6 separate regions of the Homo sapiens genome follow, and regions 2, 3, 4, 5 and 6 are each linked to region 1. Evidence: promoter capture Hi-C in 16 types of primary human blood cells and fetal thymus (Javierre and others, 2016). All regions are on one chromosome and are shown on one strand. The core of a region is centred on a gene start or on the middle of the fragment in contact, and the rest is flanking DNA. Distances in the headings are between cores, read along the strand shown. Region 1 holds the start of DTHD1 (death domain containing 1). Region 2 overlaps ARAP2 (ArfGAP with RhoGAP domain, ankyrin repeat and PH domain 2). Region 3 overlaps ARAP2 (ArfGAP with RhoGAP domain, ankyrin repeat and PH domain 2). Region 4 overlaps ARAP2 (ArfGAP with RhoGAP domain, ankyrin repeat and PH domain 2). Region 5 overlaps ARAP2 (ArfGAP with RhoGAP domain, ankyrin repeat and PH domain 2). Region 6 overlaps ARAP2 (ArfGAP with RhoGAP domain, ankyrin repeat and PH domain 2).

Region 1 (3,187 bases), core at 274-2,773:
TTTTATGATACTTTTTCTTTATACTTCTGCTCTAGCTCTCAACACAGACTAAGCTTTATTTCAATAATCTGTTCATGCATCTGTCTCTTGAAATCCTAAAAAGGCCTGACCTCCAGCACTTAGTTCCTGTCCCACAGTAAATGCTATAGGAAGTTTTCAAAATTAGCATTGAATTAAAGCCATGTGTACATTATTATTGAGAATGACACATCCATTTAAGGAGTAAGAAAAGAAAATAGAATTGAATGAGTGAGTCTTTAGTTTGAGAAGATTTAAATGATCCAATCCATGAAGTGATATGAACTCATACTGCGAAAAAGGTCCCCTTTTCAGTGAACAGAAGTTAACTGAAAAATAAGACACTTAGTGGTGAAGGAGCCCCTCTCCACTCTGCAGCCACCAGTACTCAATACTGCTCCTTTCCTTCAGGGTCTTTGACAGTCTTTAGGGCAGTGGCAGTCATTCTTCATTATTTATTCTCTGGGCTTGTTTTTCCCATCTTGTCTTCCAGGTGCCCTGAGTGTAGCTCTTAGAACTCCAGGGCTTAAGATGAGATAATGTGTTGCCTGTGGGAGGGAAGCACTCCGGCTTCCACTTGAAAAGCTTTCATTTTGTTCCAGTACCCGAGGGAACATGAGCCTCTCTGGAATGTACTTGCTGCCCTCTTCCTTTGGCTTAGGTGTGTGTTCTCTCTGAGCAGTGGGATTGGAGAGAGGGAGGCAGACTGTTCTGGTTTCCTCCAAATACCCGCAAGTGCTGCATTGCATAGCCCCATATATGATGCGCTGGCAGGCAGATGGGCAGCAGTGGGGAGAGCTTGTTGTATCTGAATTTTAATTACATATGGTAAAGAATCCTTGCTAGTTTAGAGAAAGCTACTCTTCAGGTTTACTTTCTTTCAGTGAAGGGGCATTTTATCCAATTAGAGGGAAATTATCAGAGGCCAAGTTCTTATCTCAGTCTCTGCAGATTTACCACATAAGAAGATGCTAATTATAACTTCCTAACCAATGCAATAGGCTCTGCTCCAGTAGAGGAATCTTTTTAAACTCTTGGTTATAAAAATACTATACATATACACATTAATTAGAGTGAATTGTCAAGACCCCATGTGTAAACATATCCAGCTTCAACATTTATTAATTCTTACAGCAAATTTTATACCTCTACCCACCCCTATGCTCCCTGATTATTTAGAAGCAAAATCAGACATCACATTATTTCATTCATAAATATTTTTAAGTTTACAGGAATCCTGCCAGCAATATTGTTCATACAGTTTACCTTTGATTAATAAACTTCTTACCCTACCTGGAATCTGTATTTTGTTGCCTCAAAACTTGAAAAGTATTTGGTACTTCCACAGTATATTGAATTTGTAAAACTTACACAGAGAGTTGGATCATGTGAGTCAGCTCTACCCCAGTGATTAATGTATTCTGTACACAGTAGCACCCATGGTACAGGAACGCCCCTTCTTCGGTCACCTAGTAACTTTTCACTAGTCAACACCAAACTGAATAACCACTATGTTGTGAGAAAGTGCTGGGCTAGCTGACTCGGATCATCTCCTAGAGTTTAGGAGAAATAACAATCACAAAGTTTGAATTTGCAAAACCTTTAGGCTTTGCTGGCAGGAGAGAAAATACCACTTTTGGATCATAAAATGGATATGGAATACATGGGCTCAGGTAAACTGGGCCAAATATTGAAGCAGATTTGGAGACAAAACCAGATGCTAAAGCAGGCACTCTTGGGTGATGACCTTTGTGAGGGGGCTGGTGGGGCCACTTGGATGGCCACTGTGGTCTTTCTGGGTCAGGAACTCAGCAGTGCCCTTCACCAGCTGCTGGAGCACACCTCAGGCACCCTGCGTTCCACCTGCCAGCAGCTGCATGTGCTGCTTGACAAAGAGAATCAATGTGTCTCGAGAAAAGGCAAGTATTCTTTTTTTTAGTTTATTCTTTCTCTAAGAAATATTGATTAGGGCAAGATCTGAGAGGGGCTATGAGTATACCAGATAGGCTAAGATAGAGTTTCTGTCCACAAGAGACTAACAATTTCAAAGGGGAAATAAGTTGAGACAAATGCACAATAATGCCAGGGACATTGGGGCCAGTCCCATTAGAAACACATGAATGAAGTGCTTTTGGACTTCAGAAGCAGTTTAAATCCCATCTGTAGGGTGGGGAATTGAGAAGTTTGCTAGAAAAATGTAGTATTTAAGCTGAAGCTTAAAGAGTGAATTGGATTTATGCAGCAGGAAAGAGAGAGTCGGTAATTTTAGTAGGATCCAAGACTTAGAGACAGGAAAATACAGGCCACTGAGGCAGAGCTAGTAGTTTGTTTTTTATATCAGAATATAGTATTCTATCTCTAGGGTCATTTGAGCTTAGCCTTATTGATTGCAAAATTACTGGGAAGACTGGAGTGGGTTGGGATAGGGAATTGGATCCCCATGCACTGGGGCTGGAGAGGGATTCTTGGGAATAGGTCCAGTTATGGATGTGGAAAAGTACAGTAAGGCAGGAAGAATGTGGAATCTGATGAATATAATCCTAGATAACAACAGTTACTCCAGATAAGCATATAGGTGGCATCATGAAATTCAACTCTAAATAATACAGTATCAAGATAAGTGGGCAGGTTCCATCTATGAGGAAATCCAGGGTAGATGATGTTAAGAAATTCAATCTAAAGGGCAAATAGTGGGCATCAGGGAAATCTGTCTAAAGGCAGCATGACTGAGAAGCCATCAGCTGCAGCCCACAATGAGACCTTTAGCCTCTGGAGGGAGTGGAACATGGTCTTTGGCAATATAACAAGCAAATATATATTCAGAAAAAAACAAGGACTTGGTTACCAGAATAGGAGTTAAAAATAAAGACAAGTTCTCAGGTATAAGACAAAAACAAAACAAAACAAAACACAAGTTGTCAGAACTGGATCCCAAAGAAAAGCCCTGACTGGTGAAGGGATGATTTGGTGATGGCTTTAAAAACACTAAGCTATGGGGCCTTAAATTACCTATTCTTTAGTTCAGAACTGAATTCTAAAGACTAGAGAGGTACTAAGCCTGCAAGAAGTCATCAGGTGACCTCAGTAGTGAGGAGAAGCAGGATGAACAAATAGGAGAGTGGGAAGAATGATGACGGAGTGAGAGATTATATAAGATTTGATCATGCTA
Region 2 (3,187 bases), core at 373-2,872, 210 kb before region 1:
TTCCCTACCTGGATAAGGTATTCTCATATGACTTTCAATAGGACTGAATGAAAGCCAGGCTTAGCCACAAAATTTATCAATCTGCCAACAACTTCTTTGAAAAATAATTCTTCTTGAATATATTCATTGTTATGACTGATTTTTATTAATATATAATACTTAATTTTTTTTTGAGTTTTTTTTTAATTTTTTTTCTTTTTTTTTTATTATACTTTAAGTTTTAGGGTACATGTGCACATTGTGCAGGTTAGTTACATATGTATACATGTGCCATGCTGGTGCGCTGCACCCACTAACTCGTCATCTAGCATTAGGTATATCTCCCAATGCTATCCCTCCCCGCTCCCCCCACCCCAACACAGTCCCCAGAGTGTGATATTCCCCTTCCTGTGTCCATGTGATCTCATTGTTCAATTCCCACCTATGAGTGAGAATATGCGGTGTTTGGTTTTTTGTTCTTGAAATACTTAATATTTTAACTCACTTTTCATTTTTAAAACAAAGGGTCAAAAATGGTTAGTTATTTTGTAAATATATTTTTTAAAATTTTTATATGAATCTAATATTATGGCAGATATTTTCATGGTTTATATGAATTTTTTTAAAAAAATTTCTATTATTGCCTTATAAAGTAAGTTTCATTATGTTTTTCCAAAATTAAACATTTAAAAAATGTCTTTGCCAAATTTATCAAATCACCAAACTACCTTATATTTACTAATCTTACAAAGAGCTTGGTTTATTTTAAAGACTCAGAAATTTTCCAGTAATTGAAAATGCATGTAATTCTTTTAAAAGCTTGTAAACACTTTATAGTTTCAGTTCTTCAGTTTTCCTATCTTAAATATGTTAAAAATTGTCTCTGAAATTGTGGATTTGGGATAAGGCTAAGAAATTATTATACAGTCAATCATCATCTATATTAGATACTGGTTAATGTATTTTGATCCCAATAATTTATTTTGCTTTGCCGATAATTGATCTGAAGGCAATGTCAAAAGGTTCTACAGTCACTGTAGGGCGTATCTCTCCCTATGTTAGTTTCATCTGTTCAGCCTGTGTTCCCTGTCCTGGGTTCCTGGGAAATGTAACTCTTAGAATTTTAAGATACTTGATTAGATAAGGAACTCTGCAGAGCGGTTTATTACCTAAAAAAAAACAAAAAAAAAACCCCAAAAAAAACAAAAAAAAAAACTAGGTACAGAATGGAAGAAATGACAAGGTCATGATTTCTTGGAGACATATTCCTTACTTTGATTACATCAGGGCAGAATGACTAAGCAGTAAACAAAGGACCATTATTTTTGAAGCTTTTCTCTTTTAGAGAAGGAATATTACAGTGGGATAAATGTTCAAGAAAGGATATGCACAAAAAGCTTAAAAATCTGATCACTAGGTTAAAATGGCTTTCGTCTTTCAAAAGTTATTTCTGTTTGGAGAGCAAAAGATTTGAACAGCTTAATTCCAAATTTAGGCTCAAGGAAGATATAAGAACACCTTCTAACTGCTTTTCTTTTTGCTTTCAGAGACTCAATTAAGACACTGAAATATGTGTTGGTCCCAAAATGGCTAATGAGTTTTGAGAGTAAACAGCCTATGTTCTTTGCTGAAGAGGCCAAACTTCATGTCAAGATTGATGCCGCTTATGATCTCCCAACCCTCAAGGTGAGAAGGAAAACAAACAGTAGCTTTCATGAAAGATGCCAAATCTTCTTTCTTGATTCTCAGGGGTCATCTTGTAGGTCCTTAAATTAACTGAGAGACCCCATCAGTTCCCAAAGCACTGGAATGTGATTATATTACTAGAAAGTTTAGTTACCAGGGCTCCAGACATATTCTGCTATGGGCTTACTCTGAAGGTGTTTTAAGTAAGCTTGTAAAACGAATTTGAAGTTGTGATTTTACCACCAGAATTTCTATACGCATATTTTAAATTGGCTACTTTAGAGGTAAGAAAATAAGTAGTATTGTGCATATGTGATTGGGTGGTCAATGATATTAAAATAAAAGGTATAAGGTTATTCATACTGTTTTCTTGCTGTATGTGATTATTACCATGCTTTACAAAGTGATTATTATTGTGCTTTTGAAGCCAATGAAGTAATTAATGACCTAATCACATTATGACACAGGAAAATATATTCTATAATTGAATATAAAACAAACAAAATCCTAACCTACCTCAATATTTTTCCGGGCCAAGGTTGCATTCCCCTCATGCTGTATAGGAATCAGAGGCAAACCTCCAATTTTGGGATTTTTGGTTATTGAACGTTTTCGTTCCTTTCCAGCTGGTGGCCATATATCATATTCATGCTGTGGAAACACAATTTCTTGCTGTTGGTGTGTGATTTTATTATGTGGTATACTATGTCATAAAGCCACTTGGTTTCTTTCCCACATATCCACATCAAATGATCTGATTTCCATGAGAATTCCATTTGTGATTATGATGTTGACTCTGGTGGCAGCATCGCTCCAGGACATGAAACTCTTAACTGAACTGAGCTTTGAGGTCTCAGCTCAATTTCTAAGTTTCAAATACATGCCTTCTATACTACTTATCAAACCAAAAGGGGAAAAGTATTTGAGGCAACTGGCAAATCTCTTTGTGGAAGAAAAATAGTACACTTGTCTACATTGCTAGGCACTGTAATCTAAGTAACTATACATTTACACCAAATATGATTTCAGTGTAAAAATAATTTCATCTTATATATCCCAAATCAACCTAAGGCATGACTATCAGAAAAATTAGCCTAACTTTATGACCTCTTGAAAAATGTTACTATTTTATCTAATTGAATTCCAAAGAAATATAATCTTTTTACTCAGACATTTCAACATCTTTACTGAAAATCATTGTACAACGGAGAGTGGGGCACATTTGTTCTCAAATCATTGACTATATATTCTTGCCTTCTAAATAATTATACATATGACTGGAGAAAGGTTAATTTGGATGGGGATAAATGTTCACAGGTAAAAATATAAGCTCTGGAGTGATTCATCTCTGATATATACATATAAAAAATTCTTTAAAGAATTTTGTACTCCCCAGGGTAGATTAACTTTCCAGAATTTGGAAAAAGTATATTGATTTTCAAACAACAATCTATGACGTAAACACAGAATACCGAGTATAAAATGAAAAGTTTACAGATATTGTAATGAAATGAAAACCATT
Region 3 (3,187 bases), core at 452-2,951, 190 kb before region 1:
TTCCATCACATAACCCCATAATTCTATGAAATCTACTATTCCTCTATGGGTAAAATTGAAGAATGATAATAAATGATAGTAACCACTTGATACCCACACAGACTCCCTTCTGGATATCAAGTGGGGGTTCAAATGCAGTATATAATATGAATCTGTGATAAGGGCTGCAGAATTCAGGCTGTTTTATTAGTCTCCTGCCTGGACATTCCACTGTCCTTGAGGAAAGCAAACATTGGAATGTATACACAGAATACAATGCTATTATGATTTATTCATGCCCACATGGAGGCTCCCCTGCTGGAGGAATACACAGAGAAAGTAATTAAAGCACACGGAGTGCTGAACAGAAGCCACAGAACAAGACAGCCACAGCTTTGGAAAGCTGCCTAACAATTCTTTCTTTGTAACATATTAACAGATGTTAAAGTCTGGTCTTTCTTTGTGCATCTCCACAACAGAACACAGTGAAGCATCATTCACTTATAAGTGTGCAAGCAATGTTTACCCAAGTGAATTTTATAATTCAATATTTAAAAAGTATTTTCCAGGTCCTGCTGACTTCCATTCTACATTTAAAGTAATTGCCTTGGTACTACTTGAATCTCAGAGAGTTGTTGCTGCATACCCCCATGTGACCACCATCCAAAACAGGAGAAAGAACATTTCTATCTAGAAAGTACCCCACTGACCCTTTTCCTTGGCAATTCTGCAGCAAACTCTGTCCCCAACCTAAGCAAACACTTTCTGACTTCTATCACCATAGAATGGTTCTGCCTGTTCTTAGACTTCTTATGCACAGACTTATATGATACTATTTTGTGTCAAGTTTCTTTGGTTTCAAAGGTTTTAAAAACTCACCAATGCTGTGGCTTGTTTTAATATTCATTTTTGTTGCTGAGTAGTATTCCATTATATGAATAGAATATTTTCCTATTGGTGGACATTTGGAATGCTTCCAGTTATCAGCTTTTATGAATAAATCTGCTTATGAACATTCTTGTACAAGTGAGTACAAGTAGTTGTACTGCTTGAGTAGAGCCACTGGATCATGGGGTAGATTATGTTAGTAACTTCATTTAAAAACTGACAAACAGTTTTACAGAGTGATTGTGTGATTTTACCCTTCCACCAACAATTTATGTGGGAGTTCTAATTACTCTACATCATTTTTTAACATTGGGTGTTATCACTGTTAAGATTTTAGTCATACCAATGAGTGTAAAATAGTGTCTTGTGGTTCTAGTTTTAATTTCCCGATTATTAATGATATTGAACACTTTTGAATCAATGGGTTATTGGACATTTCTACATCTTCCTTCATGTAATGTCTGTTCTATCCTTGCCATAATTTTTATTGAACTGCTTTTCTTATTGTTGATTTAGAAGAGCTCTTTATACTCCTGATATAAGTCTTTTTCTGATATATGTTAATTAACACATTTTCTCAATCTGGGACTATTAGTACACCTATTAATACATTTTTCTCAATCTGGGACTTGCCTATTCATATTCTTAGTGGTATCTTTGGATGAGCATGCTATTATTATTACATTATATTTATAAAAAGAATTTTTACATATATTATTAGACCACTAGCTTGACTAATAAAGAAGAGAGAATATTTGATAAACACAATCAGAAACAATAAGGGGGATATTACTACTGACCCCATAGAAATATAAACAAGTATCAAAGAATATTATGAATACCTCTATGCATATAAACTAGAAAAACTAGAAGAAATGGGTATATTCCTGGACACATACAGCCTCCCAGACTAAACCAGGAAGAAACTGAATCCCCGAACAGACCAATAACCAGTTCTGAAATTGAAGCAGTAATAAAAAGCCTACCAACCACAAAAATCCCAGGAATCGGAGGGATTCACAGCTGAATTCTACCACATGTACAAATAAGATCTGGTACCATTCCTACTGAAACTATTCCAAAAAATTGAGGAGGGACTCCTTCCTAACTCATTCTATGAAGTCAGCATCATCCTGATACCAAAACCTGACAGAGATACAACAAAAAAGAAAACCTCAGTCCAATATCCTTGATGAAACATCAGTGCAAAAATCCTCAACAAAATAGTGGCAAATTGAATTCACCAGCACACCAAAAGGCTTATCCACCACGATCATGGAACAGTATGCATCCATAAAAAAGAATGAGATCATGTCCTTTGCAAGAACATGGATAGAACTGGAGGCCATTATCGTTGGCAAACTAGCATGGAATAGAAAAACAAATAACGCATGTTCTTACTTACAAGTGGGAGCTAAATGATGAGAACACATGGACACATAGAGGGGAACAACACCCACTGGGGCCTTTTGGTTGGTGGAGCGTAGAGGATTAGAAAAAACAACTAATAAGCACTAGGCTTAATACCTAAGTGATGAAATAATGTGTAAAACCAATCCCCATGACTCAAGTTTACCTATCTAACAAATTTTCACTTGCACTCCTGAACTTAAAAACCAAAAAAAAATTTCAACAAATTAAAGAAAAATGCTGTTAACCTGTCGCAGTCTTATAAAAACCAAATCCCTGGAGGTGGGGCCTGTGCACATTTGTTTTACTTTTTTTATCCTAATGCTTTTTAAAAATTGCAGTGTATATATAATACACATATAAAAAGTACACAAATCATACATATTAGCTCCGTGAATTTTAATAAAGTGAACATACTGGTGTAACCTGCACCCAGAGAATATAAAAAAAATCATATATTATTTTTTAAGCATTAAAACAACCTGACATGCAGAACTCATACTATCTTAAATTACAGATTTGGATACTGAGGTTGAGAGGTTAAGTTACTTATTCATGTAACCAGCTCTTCACAGAGATGAGATTTTCTGATGTTAAGTTCAATATTTTTATAGCTACATCATTTATCTACTCCCTCTTTTATATCTCTAATTCTCTTATCCACTCCACAATTATTTAATAAGATCTTTTAGGGAAATAAATTAGACGGAATATATCAATAAGATTACATTAATACATATGAAATTAAAAATAAGTCAATTCATTCAACCATATAGGAAAGATACTAATAAGATTTATTTTAACTTTTGGGTTTGGTCATTTTATTGCACCTTTTATTAATTTCCAGTAGCTAATCTGAAGCCTTTTATTTTAGGGTATCACACATTCTCTATTAATTTTATTGACTGAG
Region 4 (3,187 bases), core at 334-2,833, 170 kb before region 1:
GTGGCACTCTAGCCTAGGTGACACAGCAAGACTCCATCTCAAAACAAACAACAACAACAACACAAACCAAAGAATATTTCATCCAAATCTCTGAAACATCACTTAAGCCTCCAGCTTGCTTTCTTCTGCTTTGCTTCTCTAGTTCTTCTCTAGCTTTTTTTCTACAAGATTCTTTGTCTAGATCTTACAGAGGCTTGATGCTTTTATAACAGAAGGACACACTCATAACTCCATCTAGAAGATGTAATGGGATAGGTGGAACATCACGAAAACACCAAATCTTCCTACCCAGTTTGTGGTTACAGCCAACGTACCAGCTGTCACTGTACCATTTCTTCTTGCCCTTACACAACAAAGGTTTTACCCAGATATGACTGCTCTAAACCAGCGCAATCTACACCTTGTTGGGTTGTTTGCCACCCACCCCCAGCCATGCCCCGAAGATTAATAGCATTTAATGGTGAACTTGTTTTGGGTTACCCGCACCCTCAGACATACAGAACCTTCACTTATAACATAGCCTTTTAGGATCTAATTCTTATCCATTTTTATTCATATAGCCAACCTACTAGCATTCACACAACAGCAAAGGTATTATGTCTAGGTGTAGGTTTTAAACATGTTGCAACATGGAGAATTAGAGATATTGCAGAGGAATATCAGAAGAAAAGAAACAAATAAAAATTTCAACAGAAAGATAAAGAATTAGAACAGATATCACAGATTATCTAAATTAGGGTTTCTCAACATCAGCAGTGACCCTTGGTCTGTACCCACTAAATACCAGAAGCCCTGCCTCCCTACCCAATCTCCAAGTTGTGACAGTCAGAAATGTCTTAAGACATTGTATGTTCCATGTCTTGTGGGCGGGGAGGGGAGGGAGGGGAAATCATTCCTAGCTGAAAGCCACTACTTTATGACATGTGCATTCATACATGTGCATTCACATCAGTACAGAGAAATCCTATTGCAAACATTAAGAAGGCACAGGCAGTATATGGTCAGAATCATATGTAAGAGCATGAAAAAATTTCAAACAGGATAAAGGTCTCGGAAAGGCTACATTTCTACAGTATAAAGAGTTAGTATCTGTTTTGGCTTTTTAGATGCTTATAAGAACACAATGACATAAAAGTTGTTATACTACTTGCATTTTGTAAAAGTACTTTCACGTAAGTAAAAGTATGTAAGATATAAAAGACAGTGTATTAAATCAGAAGTTTATATGATAAGCTTTGGTACAATTAAGAGCTCTGAATTATGACTATTAACTAGAGAATCTGCAATGATACTGAGTAGTTTACAGCACTGAAGAGCTGTACCATCCTCCCCACCTTTTTTCACATGATTAAAATTAGGAGGAACACCAATCAGTTCTTCAATTCAATACTTAGTAACTGAATAATATAAGGCAAATTACTTAAGTTCTCTGAGTTTCTCTTCCCTTCATTTGTAAAATTCAAAAGGTAATATAACTTACAAGGAAGTTAAAAAAAACTTTAAATGAGCTTTGGTGTGTGTTGAGCTCTGCTGGTATGCAATTAAGAAATAATAATGGTTATTATTTATATTAATCATAAAAGTAATCATAAATTTCAATCCTTAGCTTATTGAGTTGGATTGTATATAATCCTGGCTTTTTTTTGATCTTTCAGTTGATAACAACACAACAGAAGAATAATTAAGTTTCAAAATAAAAATTTTCTGAGATCTCATAGAGGTTCAGAAATGGTCTTATATAGTTCACTGTGCTAGCTAACTTACTTAATTAACCGTACATGAGCACTATCTCCTTCCAGTTGGATGGGAAGCATTCTTACTGGAAGTATTTTATTTTGTAAGTATTTATTTTCCAACTTCATCACAAAAATGTGAGATATATAGCAAGCACTCTATCTCAGAGCCTATATAATTAGCATTCCTTTAATGCCTAGAAAGCTTTCTAATGTAAATGTAATTCACAGAGATGACTTGCCCTCAGTCTAAAAATTGAGGAAAATACATAAGCATAAGCATGGTAAACAACCTTTAAAAACAAACTATTATTTCCAAAAACCTGAACTTGGTACAATCAAATTAGCCAACTATTACCACAGAGCAACACATTGGGAAAATATCTTCCTGTCCATATATTCTTCTTTCTTATATATGTACTATCTCAGTTCATTCTGTATCTAGCTACTCGTTTTTCACATTTTCAAATATTACTTGTGCCATATTAATTACCCTTTAACCACTTGAATTTTCAATCATAGCTGCAATGTGAAGTAATGACACCTACCACTGCAGTGTTTAATTGTGTCAGCGGTTAAGAATCTCTTCACCACCAGGTAAGCAGAGCCAGGTTCAGCTAATGAACTCCACCGAAGCACCTGCTCCAGTACATTTTCCTTGTAGTGAAGAGGACGCTCTGTAAAAAATAAATTCCAAATCAAATGGAAAATATATGAGGATAACAATTTTTTATTTTATAATCATAAATTTTAAAAAATCCATTTGAAAACATCTGTAGGCAACATTATACACAATCATATCTTATGTTATATTATACAGTAATAGCACTATGACTATGTAAAAGATATCCTAAGACCTAGAAAATTATTAAGCACATAATAACATTTACTATATAAATTAATCATGCAGGAATACCTGTTACTGAACTATTTTTAAAAATCAGAAGTACTTTTGATAAAAATCTCAGAATTCTACCTTTTGTATAATAAATTCTACCCCTTGTACAATACATTATTATTATTATTATTATTTTGAGACAGGGTTTCACCCTGTCACCTAGGCTGGAGTGCAGTGATGCAATCCTAGCTCACTGTAGCCTCAAACTTCTGAGCTCAGGCTACCCTCCCACCACTGCCTCCCAAAGTGGTGGGATGAACAGGCATGAACCACCATCCCCATCCTCTAACCTCTTTTGTAGATAACATACTGGTTTGTTTAGGGAAACCTTCTTATTTTTATATGCAATTAAATGGTTTTAAAAGGACTAACAAACTTAATATTGTCCGTTACTAAATAATAATCATAAATTAATCATAATCCTTTGTTTATCCCAACAAGATCAAACTCATAATTTTGGATCAACACTAGTAAATACCTCATAGCTAATATTTTCATAATCAATACAAAATTATAAAATGTAACTTCTATAGAAAACACTAAAATCATTTACAAA
Region 5 (3,187 bases), core at 470-2,969, 150 kb before region 1:
TGAACTATCCTGGAACTATGAACTGTACAGTACCCCTTCGATCCAGGTAAAGGGTACTTTCAAATCTTTTGAAAAGTTGAGAGTGCAATGGAAGAAGTCAAGCCCAGGTCTTAATAACTACAATCTGGATTTAGAGGATGATAGACCTCCTGCTTTTGTCATGAACAGAAATTTGTTGGTTTATGGAGAGAAGGATGAGAAGGACTTACCCTCCACTCACCTGACTCCAAGAAGGCAAATATCTGGAGAAACCAGAGACAGAAACCCCCAAAGATCTAAACTCTCTGTAGAGAGCATGCAGTGACAGTTTAGCCTATGCTACCTGAAGTGGAAATAGATCATTCTTTAAATAAATCACTTGTGCTGACTTGGTAACTCAAGGAGACCACACTTATTATTTCCTCTCAATTCGCAACTATCTTTGGAAACAAGACGATTTTATTTCTTGCTTAGCCTTACCTCTTCTATTCACAGAAAATCAGCAGCACGCTAATGATGTCTTAAAAGTACAAAGTCACTTGTAAAGGACATTAGGATCCCTGGCTAGGTAAGAAACTCTGTATGACACAGTTTTCAAGTGCACACCTATTCAAAATTGCAAGTGATATCTCTTTTGTACTGATTTAGCCTGTACCTGAAAGCAATAGCCATACACATGAGTATACTGAATTAAGTGCACTAGTAGATGACTCTCTATAAGAAAGAGGGGGAAACACCCAAATTACATTCAAAGACATTACTGGAAATTAATTATGTATAATTCCCAGTATAATGCAAACATTTATCCTCGCGTTATCCAGTTTCTAACTGTAGGAGAAATTGCATTTATTCCTTAAAATTTAACACTACTACGCTTAAAACAAAAAGTCATGCTAGTATGCATATTTCCACAAATCTTATAAAATAGATGATATTTTCAAAATAAAGCTAAATAAATTGAAAGTAAAACTCAGGAATGATTTCAGGCCATATAGAAAATACAATGAGCAATTCAACGAAACATATAAGTTAACAGTCCTCCTAGAAGAACAGATCATATGTCATATAAATATAGGTGGTACACGGCTATAAGGCATTCTCTACCTCAGGTATACAGTACATCAAAAGAGTTTTATGAATTCACTTAGACAGTACTAGTTTATTCTTTTCAGGCCCAACATGGCCACTTTTGAAGGGTCCAGCTAAACTATACTGTTGGCAAAAGCAAAGGAGTTAAAGGTTACTTGACCCAGTATTCAAAGCCTTCTCCAAATAAATTCTCCAAGAACTCACATGCAAGTGAAAGGTGAACACTCCTACCCCTGCTGACTACCTTGTTCTGGTAGACTGACAACAGTGAAGACTTGTTTGTCACTCAATTTGACAACTTTAGCAAATATATATTTGTCGCTGTTGTTGTTGTTGTTTAACACGCAGGGTCTCAGCCCTGTCACCCAGGCTGGAGTACAGTGGCACCATCACAACTCACTGAAGCTTGGAATTCCTGGGCTCATGTGATCCTCCCACCTCAGTCTTCAGAATAGCTGAGCCTACAGGAGCACATCATGCCTGAGCTAACACTTCTATTTTTTGTGGAGACAAGGTCTCACTATATTGCCCAGGCTGGTCTCAAACTCCCGGCCTCAAGCTATCCTCCTGCCTTGGCCTCCCAAAATGCTGGGATTATAGGCGTGAGCCACTGTGCCCAGTCTTGCCATGTACTACTGATAACCAATTTTATAATAAAGACAAATTATAAGTCTATAAAGTAGAGATACTCTAAACAGCTTCATACATTTCAATACAATTTCTTAAAACAAAAATGAGGGGTGCAAGGTAACTGAGCTTAAAGCAATGTATTTAGCTCTGTGTTTTATATCTTAGAAAATTATACACTTAATTCTTCTTGTGATTACAGTGAACCCTACTGATTTGAGAAACATTAGAAGGCAAATGAAAGACTTCTGAAAGGTAGTTATATCGTGAGAAGCTTTATTTTCATTATAATACTACTTTTGCTGACACTAACTAGGGTCATTCTTGGGATAATTTTCAAACTGTGCATGTTTTGTGACATCATTTGAAAATTAATCTCTTTAAATATATCACTTGTTTTAGATTAAACAAATACTTTCAATGAGGAAAATTACTTCTCAATAGAGGAATGCCATGTGACTAGATTCAAAAGCCATTTTCCAAATCTTGAAAGAGATTAAATATATGAGACAAACACATTATAATTATGGAATAATTCAAAAGTAAGTTTTAAAACCTAGAACAAGAGAGAAATAAAAATTATCATTTGGAAAATATTATAGATATATGAGAAATGCTTATGATTTATTAATAAAAATAAAAATGTCATATACATAAATTATAAAAGTGAAGAAAAGGACTATAATATGGAAAAATAAAAGTAGCTTCAGTAAAAAGGTGGAATGAAAGGCAATGCTTATATTTAAGTCTTTGTTATTGTAATGTTTCAATAAAAGGACTTGTTTTAAATCATCGGAGGTTAAAAACACGTTTTACTAAAATTAATTTGACCCATGAGGGATTTAATAAACTCCTTTTCTAGGGTCATCTCTTAATTAGCTTTTCTTACAGTGTATAACAAAACTCTATTTCATTAGATGGAATCTAGAATAAATGAAGCAAAAGTTAAAAAAATTGTTATATACACTAAAGATGTAGAACACATAATAGAAGAAACACAAAAGAGTCATGGGTGAAAATCTTGCAAAATGTATCCTGTAGTAAATGCTTCATTTTATTTTTAATGAGAAATTAGTAGCACACATGGACTTGACTGTAACATTCCAAAGTTGAAGCAAAGTATGCACTAAGAAATCCATTGAAAACTAAGTATATACCAAACGATTTAGTGAATATTTTGAATTTCTCTTGAGGTAGAGAGAAACAGCTATTGATATTTATATAATTTCTGTTATCAGCCATTATGTACATTGTTTCTTTCAATTAAAATTTCAGCTTATCAAAGATGTTTAAAGTCTAAGTATTAAAAGGCAAGCATGTATTATGGTCTATATTATACACACACACACACACACACACACACATATCTACAAATATCTGTATAAATATTACCTAAAGCAGAGATCCAATATGGGTAGAGCTCCTTAGTAAGCAGTGCATCATCAATGTCAGAGAGAAAACTTTTCAACACAGCCGTCACATCTTCAAGCTG
Region 6 (3,187 bases), core at 330-2,829, 140 kb before region 1:
TTGACAAAGTGACCTCACTAGCTGTCTTGGTTTACTCAATTTCCATTCTTAATCTGATCTAGTACCTGCCTGTTCACTTCTGCTCTCCCCCAAGTCACCAGAGGGACTCCAAATCACTTATCTTATGGAGTATGTATTCTCACTAGGCATGTCCTTCTGTCAGCACTTGACATTTTTAACTGATCCTTCCTTTTTGAGACACCCTCTTCCTGGGCTTTGTAACACTTTGTACTCTCTCTTAGTTTCTGGCCTCACTCTCTGAGGAAACAAGCAGCTACTTCTCCCTGACAAATTCCCCTAACCCAAAATGATGTATAGTCATCAAAGCTCCAACACAGGACTTCTTCCTTTTTATTTCCACAGAATCACCCTAAGTAATTTCACTTTCTTCCTTCTTTACGCTGGCAACTCCAAAATCTGTATCTCCAATCTGTTAATCTTTTCATGAATATCTTATCCATAAAAAATAACTTTCTCCCATCAATTTATTCTTAGATTTCTTATAAGAATCTCATGCTCAACATGTCTTAAACTCATTATCTCCCAGGCTCTCTCCCAAACCTGCTCCTTTTTCCACTATTTCCTATATGATGTCTATGTAGTCACAGAATACACAAACATATGTTTATGTGTCTATGTAAATAAGTAGATATGAGACTCTGTTTTGCACCATACAGGGTGCTGTGCCTGTCACGTATGTATAGTCTTTGTTCTTGTTCTATCAGGGTTCATAACCTCACATTCTTGGCATCTATTGTGCAGATTCTTTACTTTTATGCACACGGTGGACCTCCCTTCTCTCTACTCCATTTTCAATTAGGTAGGAATTCTATGGACACGTTTTCTAATAATTTTATAAAAATGTTTTCTAGTAAACATTTTTATTTTTCTAATAAATGCTTCAATTTTGAATTCTAGTAACTTATAGTGTCTATCCAGACTCCTAGAACACTTGTTGCTTTATATCCTGAGAAAGATCTCTACAAAGGTATTGGTAAATTAATACTGAACACTTGATTTTTAAAAAAAAATTTAAGTTACAAATTGACCTTACTTTAACTTCAAAATGAATTATTTTCCTCAATACCATATAGGCAAAAGAAGGCTGTTTAAGTACTTAAAATGGGGCTTGGCACATGGTAACTGCCCCCATTGTCATCATTGTTATTATCAGATGATTATTGATTTGGAGTAAAAAGGAAAAGCAAGTAAACCAAAGACAGAAGCATGTGATAATATAATTGCGTTTAAATGGTGGGGATGGTACATTAGCTATACGAAGAGATTTACAGAAAGTAACTTGGTTATATTTATCCTCACATTTCTCCCACTCCTATTATTACTCTTCACTTTCATAAAAATACTTTGAACATAACTTGTTAGTAACACATGTAGACGAAAACTTTCAATTACCAAAAATGTTATTAACTGTCTGTGACCATTATTTTGGAATTTCATTAGTTTTCTACTTTTCCATGAACTCAAAAATAATATTACAAATGAATTTCATCTCCTGATTTCTGCAGTCCAGCGGTAAGATCAAAATGTACAAAATAATAAAACATTTAGTGCTCTGGCTTCCATATCTTCCATATATGAGGGGCTGGACTGCATGCAGTAAGCACTAAATAGAATTACATTAAACTGAATCATTCTAATCCATGTTTGCTACATTTTAATTAAAACCTATGTATCATTGGCCAAATACTCCATAGGTTAAAAAAAAGGGTACAAAAATACGTTGGTTATAATAACCTGAAAAAATGAAAAGGATAAACACATTTGTTAAGCTGATACTTGTCTATTTGTTTAAGAACATAAGCTCTGAGGGGTCAGACACCAAGTTTGAATTGTTTACCTTTTTTATTTTCCTGCCATGGAAGTAGCAGTTAGTAGGCATTCCATAAATATTAATAAATGATTGTAAAACTGCATTTATGCTAGTATTTTAATGTCAAATCCTATCTATACCTAATAATTCCTCATTATTTCTGGACATAAAATTAACAATACTCTCACGGTATAGTGAAATCATCATCTAGTAACAAAAATAAGAATCTAAAGTATCATTAACCATAATAATCTAAGAAATAAGTAAAAATGCAAAGTCCTAATTACGCCTAGAAGCTAAAAAACACAATCTGACATAAATATCTAATCAGCAATATGCTCGCTGTATAAAGCTCTTGATGTCGTCCCATGAAGTTGAAGGAAAGGCAGGTTCAGATAACCACTGAAAGTCATTATCCTTGTCACAGCAATAAAAATAATCAAATGAAGGCTTATTTAGCTATATTTTTATATCGCAGTTAAACATTGAACAAGATAAGATTGAACTGCACAGATCCCTTTATACACAGATTTTTCTTTTGCCTCTGCCACCCCTGAGACAGCATGATCAACCTCTCCTCCTCCTCAACCTACATATATAAAGACGACACAGATGAATACCTTCATGATGATCTACTTCCACTTAATGAATAGTAAATATGTTTTCCCTTATGATTTTAATAGCATTTTCTTTTCTCTAGCTTACTTTATTGTAAGAATACAAATAATCTTGCACTATTATACAGCAAACCATACTGAACCAGTGTAATTAAGAGTTTTTTTAAGCAAATTACAAGAAGCCAAGGGGAAAAAAACCAATTTGTTGAAGAAGAAAGGCAGTTTGAAGATTTCCCAAAGAACTAAAAATAGAACTACCATTTGATCCAGCAATCCCACTACTAGGTATCTATCCAAAGGAAAAAAAAATGGTTCTACCAAAAAGACACCTGAACTCATATGTTTATCACAGCACTATTCACAAGAGTAAAGACGTGGAATCAACTCAAGTGCCGATCAGTGGTTGACGGGCTAAGGAAAATGTCGTCATATATACCATGGAATACTACACAACCATAAATAGGAATGAAGTCAAGTCCTTTGCAGCAACATGGATGCAGCTGAAGGTCCTTATCCTAAGTGAATTAACACAGAAACAGAAAATCAAATACTGCATGTACTCACTTATAAGTGGGAGTTAAACAATGAGTTACATGGAAATAGAGATGGAAATAATAGACACTGAGGACTCCAAAAGTGGGGACCAAAGGGGGCAAGGGCTGAAAAACTACCTATTGGGTGCTACGGTCACTATTTGGGTGATGGGCTCAATAGAATCCCAAACCCTAGCACTACACAA

What was found. Contacts are between HindIII fragments. The CHiCAGO score rates a contact against its expected background, and 5 or more counts as called.
Region 2: a fragment that was not itself captured here is called in contact with the fragment with the promoter of DTHD1 in region 1 in 3 of 17 cell types (total CD8 T cells, activated CD4 T cells and total CD4 T cells); the score reaches 5.8 in total CD8 T cells.
Region 3: a fragment that was not itself captured here is called in contact with the fragment with the promoter of DTHD1 in region 1 in 2 of 17 cell types (naive CD8 T cells and total CD4 T cells); the score reaches 5.4 in naive CD8 T cells.
Region 4: a contact is called between a fragment that was not itself captured here and the fragment with the promoter of DTHD1 in region 1, in 4 of 17 cell types (activated CD4 T cells, total CD4 T cells, total CD8 T cells and 1 more). The highest score is 7.1, in activated CD4 T cells.
Region 5: a fragment that was not itself captured here is called in contact with the fragment with the promoter of DTHD1 in region 1 in 1 of 17 cell types (non-activated CD4 T cells); the score reaches 5.8 in non-activated CD4 T cells.
Region 6: a fragment that was not itself captured here is called in contact with the fragment with the promoter of DTHD1 in region 1 in 1 of 17 cell types (non-activated CD4 T cells); the score reaches 6.1 in non-activated CD4 T cells.

What each region holds. Positions count from the first base shown.
Region 1 is chr4:36,280,093-36,283,279 of GRCh38, forward strand. It overlaps DTHD1 (death domain containing 1), which reads left to right and starts at 1,524. Exons shown (of 10, transcript NM_001170700.3): 1 at 1,524-1,937. The coding sequence starts at 1,667. The HindIII fragment of the contact is 1,630 bases long and covers 602-2,231 here.
Region 2 is chr4:36,071,508-36,074,694 of GRCh38, forward strand. ARAP2 (ArfGAP with RhoGAP domain, ankyrin repeat and PH domain 2) reads right to left here. Exons shown (of 33, transcript NM_015230.4): 32 at 2,182-2,316. Among named protein-coding and RNA genes, the nearest start is that of ARAP2, 170 kb to the right of the region's middle. The HindIII fragment of the contact is 497 bases long and covers 1,375-1,871 here.
Region 3 is chr4:36,088,420-36,091,606 of GRCh38, forward strand. All of the region lies in intron 28 of ARAP2 (ArfGAP with RhoGAP domain, ankyrin repeat and PH domain 2), which reads right to left. Among named protein-coding and RNA genes, the nearest start is that of ARAP2, 150 kb to the right of the region's middle. The HindIII fragment of the contact is 8,569 bases long and covers 1-3,187 here.
Region 4 is chr4:36,105,284-36,108,470 of GRCh38, forward strand. It overlaps ARAP2 (ArfGAP with RhoGAP domain, ankyrin repeat and PH domain 2), which reads right to left. Exons shown (of 33, transcript NM_015230.4): 27 at 2,282-2,410. Among named protein-coding and RNA genes, the nearest start is that of ARAP2, 140 kb to the right of the region's middle. The HindIII fragment of the contact is 705 bases long and covers 1,232-1,936 here.
Region 5 is chr4:36,125,446-36,128,632 of GRCh38, forward strand. It overlaps ARAP2 (ArfGAP with RhoGAP domain, ankyrin repeat and PH domain 2), which reads right to left. Exons shown (of 33, transcript NM_015230.4): 21 at 3,088-3,187. Among named protein-coding and RNA genes, the nearest start is that of ARAP2, 120 kb to the right of the region's middle. The HindIII fragment of the contact is 496 bases long and covers 1,472-1,967 here.
Region 6 is chr4:36,142,444-36,145,630 of GRCh38, forward strand. All of the region lies in intron 19 of ARAP2 (ArfGAP with RhoGAP domain, ankyrin repeat and PH domain 2), which reads right to left. Among named protein-coding and RNA genes, the nearest start is that of ARAP2, 100 kb to the right of the region's middle. The HindIII fragment of the contact is 4,528 bases long and covers 1-3,187 here.